Linked DNA regions of Homo sapiens: region 1 is linked to region 2. Evidence: promoter capture Hi-C in 16 types of primary human blood cells and fetal thymus (Javierre and others, 2016). All regions are on one chromosome and are shown on one strand. The core of a region is centred on a gene start or on the middle of the fragment in contact, and the rest is flanking DNA. Distances in the headings are between cores, read along the strand shown.

Region 1 (3,360 bases), core at 176-2,675, 130 kb before region 2:
TACAAAAAATTAGCCGGGTGTGGTTGCGGGCGCCTATAGTCAGGAGAATGGCGTGAACCCAGGAGGCAGAGGTTGCAGTGAGCCGAGATCACGCCACTGCACTCCAGCCTGGGCGACAGAGCGAGACTCCGTCTCAAAAAAAAAAAAATTTACAAAAAGTAGCTGGGCGTGGTGGCCAGCACCTGTAGTTCCAGCTACTCGGGAGGCTGAGGCAGGAGAATCACTTGAACCTAACAGGCAGAGGTTGCAGTGAGCCAAAATCGCACCACTGCACTCCAGCCTGTGTGACAGGGCAAGACTCCGTCTCAGAAAAAAGAAAACATAGTAAATAGATGACACTTGGTCAGGTGCGGTGGCTCACAACTGTAATCCTAGCACTTTGGGAGGCCAAGGCAGGAGGATCACTTGAGCTCAGCCTGGGCAATACAGCAAGACCTTGTCTCTGAATTACAATTGAAAAACAAACAAAAAAACCCACTTATTTCTAGTGTTCTGCTGTCTAAAAGACTGAGTGCTTTCTGGGAAGCTATTCTGAGTTAATTATGGTGATGCATTAACATGCCACGAATATTTGTACAAACTAGTCGTCCTATAGTCAGCTGCCTAATTTTTGTGGTTTTTTTCTTTTGTTTTTGATTTTGAGGTGGGGTCTCATTCTGTCACCCAGGTTGGAGTGCAGTGGCGCGATGTTGGCTCACTGCAATGCCCTCTCATGCTCAAGTGATCCTCCCACTTCAGCCTCCCAAGTGGCTGGGACCACAGATGCACAACCATGCCCAGCTAATTTTTTTGTATTTTGGTAAAGACAGAGTTTCACCACATTGGCCAGGGTGGTCTCGAACTCCTGAGCTCAGGTGATCCGCCCTCCTCGGCCTCCCAGAGTGCTGGGATTACAGGCGTGAGACAGCACACCCGGCCTAATTTTTTTGGTTTTTTTGTTTTGGGCGGATCACCTGAGTTCACAAGTTCGAGACCAGCCCGGCCAACATGGTGAAACCCCGTATCTGCTAAAAATATAAAAATTAGCTGGGCATGGTGGCAGGCACCTGTAATCCCAGCTACTCGGTAGGCTGAGGCAGGAGAATTGCCTGAACCTGGGAGGCAGAGGTTGCAGTGAGCCGAGATCATACCATTGTACTCCCACCTGGGTGACAGAGCAAGGCTCCATCTCCAAAAAAAAAAAAGGTAATAACCCATTTTGGAAAATATAAAGAAGGAAATTAAAATCACCCATATTTTGTCTATTTAATGGTAGTAACTATTTTTTTTTTCTTTCTTGAGACGGAGTTTCGTTCTTGTTGTCCAGGCTGGAGTGCAGTGGCGCGATCTCAGCTCACTGCAATCTCTGCCTCCTGGCTTCAAGCGATTCTCCTGCCTCAGTCTCCCGAGTAGCTGTAAGCCATCCAGCTAATTTTGTATTTTTTGTCTTTACCAAAATACAAAAAATTAGGTGGGTGTGGTGGCGCATCTGTGGGCCCAGCTACTTGGGAGGCTGAAGTGGGAGAATCACTTGAGCATGAGAAGGCATTTTTGTATTTTTTCTTTTTTTAGTAGAGATGGGGTTTCTCCAGGTTGGTCAGGCTGGTCTCGAACTCCTGACCTCAGGAGATCCCCCCGCCTTAGCCTCCCAAAGTGCTGGGATTACAGGCGTGAGCCACCGTGCCTGGCCATAATCACCGTTAATAGTTTATTCTAGTCTTATTTGTTGTACATATGTGTATATATGTGTGTATGCATTGAATATAGATGTGCATGGTCTTGTTGGGATTATATAAAAAAGTCTTTTTTTTTTTTTTTTTGAGACAGAGTTTTGCTGTGTCAACCGAGGCTGGACTGCAGTGGTGCAATCTTGGCTCACTGCAGCCTCTGCCACCCAGGTTCAAACGATTTTCCTGTCTCAGTCTCCCTAGAATTATAGGCACACTCCACCAGAATCTTGGCTCACTGCAGCCTCTGCCTCCCAGGTTCAAGTGATTTTCCTGTCTCAGCCTCCCAAGTAGCTAGAACTATAGGCACACTCCACCACACCCAGCTTATTTTTGTATTTTTAGTAGAGATGAGGTTTGCCTCATCTCTGTTCAAGGCGTGAGCCACCACGACTGGCCAATATAAAAACATTTTTCTAAAGTACTGGACTGATAAGGTATTTTATTAAGTGAGTGAGTTTTCTTCCTAAACGTTTTTGTTCTATCTGGTCTTGTGACTTTATGTTTATAAAATAGGAAACAAAATGCGTACCTCTGTTGTTACAAAAATTACCGCGGCGTCTTTTATATTTCACATGCAGTTTTTCACATGGTAGAAATCGCACAGTTTCCCAAAAGCTGGCAGGGTTGTGGGAGGAGGCGGCTGTGCCCCATTGCAGTGACACCAGGGGACCCTTCCCACGGTGCTGCTCTCTGTGCCGAGGGTCTGAGTGTCGCTGGATGACTCGGCGTTTCCTTTCTTTCTTAGGGCATGGATTTCATTGGTCGCGACGCCCTCCTGCAGCAGAAGCAGAATGGAGTGTATAAACGCCTCACCATGTTCATCCTGGACGACCATGATTCAGACCTAGACCTTTGGCCTTGGTGGGGAGAGCCCATTTACCGGAATGGGCAGTATGTTGGCAAGACCACCAGCAGTGCCTACAGCTACAGCCTGGAGCGCCACGTTTGCCTGGGCTTTGTGCACAATTTTTCTGAGGACACGGGGGAAGAGCAAGTGGTGACAGCAGATTTCATCAACCGGGGAGAGTATGAGATTGACATCGCGGGATACCGCTTCCAGGCCAAGGCCAAGCTCTACCCTGTCGCCTCCCTCTTCACCCAGAAGCGCCGAAAGGATGACATGGAGCTGAGTGACTTACATGGGAAGTGATGCCACCAGGGCAGCCTCACCTCCTCCCCATCATCTTGTCCTAGAGTGGGCGTCACCTTGGAGCTTCTCTTCCTTCCGCCTCTGTTCCTCTTCTGGAGCCTTTGCCTCCCATCTCTTATCTCCTTGATATAATTTTGAACTTGACCTACTTTAAACTTTTTTGCTCTGCAGCCTTCCTTGCCCTTCCACCTCCTCCTCCTAATATTCACTCTGGGCTCTTCTTCCCTTCCCACCCCTCACTCAGCTTCTCGTGGTGGCAGGAGGTATGTCTGACAGGACAGAAGCAAGCTCCACTGTGGACATGAGTGATGGTGACAGCTGCTTTCAAATTCTGCATCTCAAGGCAGGGCAAGCCGGGGTGGTGCAGGTCTCAGGGCACGAGTCCCTCTCCCTTGGGTTCCATTTTCTTGGAGCAGCCTATTAGTTCTGGTGGGGTTGCCGTGTGTCGGATGCAGCCCTGAGGGGCAGCTCGTGCCTGCAGCCCGGCAGCTCGTTCTCCTG
Region 2 (3,128 bases), core at 100-2,599:
CAGTGGCGCGATCTCAGCTCACTGCAAGCTCCGCCTCCCGGGTTCACGCCATTCTCCTGCCTCAGCCTCCCGAGTAGCTGGGACTACTGGGACTACGGGCGCCAGTCACCACGCCCGGCTATTTTTGTATATTTGGTAGAGATGGGGTTTCACCGTGTTAGCCAGGATGGTCTCAATCTCCTGACCTCGTGATCTGCCCACCTCGGCCTCCCCAAGTGCTGGGATTACAGGCGTGAGCCACCGCGCCCGGCCGCCTTCCCCTTCTTGATAAGGCTCCCCCTCTTTTACTGTCTCACAGCCTCAAGTGTTTCCCTTCATAATTTCCATACGCGCTTCATGGATTGTTTAATGTGCGCCTCCCCCATCAGGCTGTCAGTTCCATCCCAGCAGCAACGACTGTTCTGGGCTCTTTTTTTTTTTTTTTTTTTGAAACGGAGTCTCCCTCTGTCACCCAGGCTGGAGTGCAATGGTGTGATCTCAGCTCACTGCAACCTCCGCCTGCCGGGTTCAAGCGATTCTCATGCCTCAGCCTCCGGAGTGGCTGAGAGTACAGGCGCGCGCCGCCACGCTCGGCTAATTTTTGTATTTTTAGTAAAGACGGGGTTTCACCATGTTGGCCAGGCTAGTCTCGAACCCCTGACCTCAGGTGATCCGCCCGCCTCGACCTCCCAAAGCGCTGGGATTACAGGCGTGAGCCTCCGCGCCTGGCCCTGGGCTATTACAGCACATCCTCAGCATCTAGTACAGTGGCTGCTAAATACGTATTTCGTGATCAGGTATACTAATCCTTTAACACCAAGTTCGGAATTAACTCACATGCTTCAAAGCACACCGAGAAATACAAACTGTTTTACAGAACAGCTTAAGATGACGGTCTCGGTGCGCCTGGACCGGCATCAGCTGTTTAGTTAATTTTAAGAAATCAAGGAATGGCTGGCTTACAGCAGGATTGCACCCAGCTGGCCCATCCTTCCTCCCGTGCCCCCACCCGCCCCTAGGGGATTAAAACCAAGGGAGCTAAAACCCCAGGTTGGCAACCGTGAGGTATTGGTGCTCAGCAAATCCACCCGAGGCCGCGACACTCGCAGCGCTCCCGGGGGCGAACGCAAGGCCACACTGTCCAGCTCCCGCTCCAGCCCAGACTGGGCTTCTCCAGGCCACGCGGGGCCTGATCCTGGGGCCCACTGCGGCTGCGGAGCTTTCCCCCCAGTCTGCGGGCCCAGCCGCTCTCCTAGCACCGCAGAGCTCTCCGAGGGCGGCCTACCTCTCCTAGGGTCGCCGTCCCCAGCTCCTCCCTCAGAGTCCCCCGCCAAGGGCCCGCTGCACCTATTCCCGCAGACGCGCAGCTGTACCGGCCTCAGACCACGACCTACCACAACCCGCCACGCTCCGTCCAATCAGAGCGCGCCGACGGAAAGTGCCCCGCCGCGCCTTACCTCATGAGATATTATTGGTCAACCAACATGCCAGTCAAACTGAGGACGAATCCGTTCATTAGTGGATTCCTGGGAAGGCGGCTCTAACTTGGCTGATGCAACTGCGAGAAAAGGTGGGATGGGGTGCGTCACATGATCGAGTTAGACCCCCCCCCGCCCCCCCCGCCCCCCCCCGCCCCCGGCTCCCGGAGGTCGACATTTTGGTTTCCATAGGCAAAGTCCTAACACCACAATTGACATAGTTAAAAAGGGGAGACGGTAACGTGTTTGGTAGAGGTTACATATCTTGCTATAGTTGTTTATTTTAGTTGCTGAGTGATACACAGCCCTCAAAGAGTCTGACATTGTGCCCATGGTTACACTTGTCCGGGGGAGACCTTGAATTTGGTGTGGAAGAAATAACATCAGTAGTTCAGGTACGATTGGATCAGCATCTGGTCCTCGATTTGCCTTTGGAAAAAAAAAAGTTAATATTTATAGGCCTGGGGGAGGAGGGTGAATATATATATATACATATACATATATACATGCCAGGTGCGGTGGCTCACGCCTATAATTGCAACACTTTGGGAGGCCAAGGTGGGAAGATCACCTGAACCCAGGAGTTGGAGACCAGCCTGGTCAACATAACTAGACCCTGTCTCTACGAAAAATTTTTTAAAAGGCCGGGCGCGGTGGCCCACACCTGTAATCCTAGCACTTTGGGAGGCTGAGGCCAACGGATGACGAGGTCAGGAGACCGAGAGCATCCTGGCCAACATGGTGAAACCCCGTCTCTACTAAAAACACAAAATTAGCCGGGCGCGCATCTGTAGTCCCAGCCACTCGGGAGGCTGAGGCAAGGGAATCCCTTGACCTCGGGAGGCGGAAGTTGCGGTGAGCCGAGATGGCGCCACTGCACTCCAGCCTGGCTACGGAGCAAGACTCCGTCTCAAAAAAAAAAATAAAAAATAAAAATTAGCCAGGCATAGTGGCGCATGCTTGTAGTCCCAGCTACTTGGGAGGTTGAAGTGGGAGGATCACTTGAGCCTAGGAAGTTGAGGCTGCAGTGAGCCCTGATCGTGACACTGCATTCCTTGGGCGACAGAGCGAGGCCCTGTCTGAAAAATATGTATGTATTTATACGTGAGGCATTGCATCAAACATTTCACATGCTTATTTCATTTGATTTTTAAACTGTGTATGAGGTCAGCTGGAGTCCCCTTTTTACAAATGAGGAAATTACCTTGCACAAGTTCACACCCAATAGTAAGTTGTGGAGACAGGATCCAAACCTGTGTCTATTTAACTCCAAAGCCCATGCTCTTAACCACTGCACTATTACCTCCATCATCTGATATATCCAAATACACGGGTAATAAATTGTGCTGCTGGTCATAACTCAAGTTACAGACAATACAGAAAAATACTACTTTTTATGCAAAAAGAGCATCCTACACAAAAAGAAGGTCAAGCCCAAAAGCCAGTAAAAACATAAATCATTTGATTTACTTTCCCACTTCATAGCTGCTCACAAATAGTAATCATCAAACCTACCATTTATTGAGCACTTAGTATACAGCAGGCACCAATCTAAGCTTTTAATCCTCACAACCTTATCATGAGTTACTACTACTATCTGCTTTTAACAGAGTAAAATAAGGCAGAGAGAGAGGTTAAGTAACACAGCTGAGGGCAAAACCAGGAGACACA

Evidence for each region. The method cuts DNA at HindIII sites, captures the fragments that hold promoters and counts their contacts. A CHiCAGO score of 5 or more calls a contact.
Region 1: a fragment that was not itself captured here is called in contact with the fragment with the promoter of AARS1 in region 2 in 4 of 17 cell types (endothelial precursors, M2 macrophages, megakaryocytes and 1 more); the score reaches 11.9 in endothelial precursors.

The regions. Positions count from the first base shown.
Region 1 is chr16:70,154,021-70,157,380 of GRCh38, forward strand. It overlaps PDPR (pyruvate dehydrogenase phosphatase regulatory subunit), which reads left to right. Exons shown (of 19, transcript NM_017990.5): 19 at 2,455-3,360. The coding sequence ends at 2,859. LOC400541 (a long non-coding RNA gene) reads right to left here. Exons shown (of 3, transcript NR_126007.1): 3 at 2,320-2,484. Among named protein-coding and RNA genes, the nearest start is that of CLEC18C, 18 kb to the right of the region's middle. The HindIII fragment of the contact is 7,311 bases long and covers 1-3,360 here.
Region 2 is chr16:70,288,157-70,291,284 of GRCh38, forward strand. It overlaps AARS1 (alanyl-tRNA synthetase 1), which reads right to left and starts at 1,350. Exons shown (of 21, transcript NM_001605.3): 1 at 1,265-1,350. It also overlaps a transcript of DDX19B not described here. RefSeq lists a silencer at 566-695. The HindIII fragment of the contact is 11,417 bases long and covers 1-3,011 here.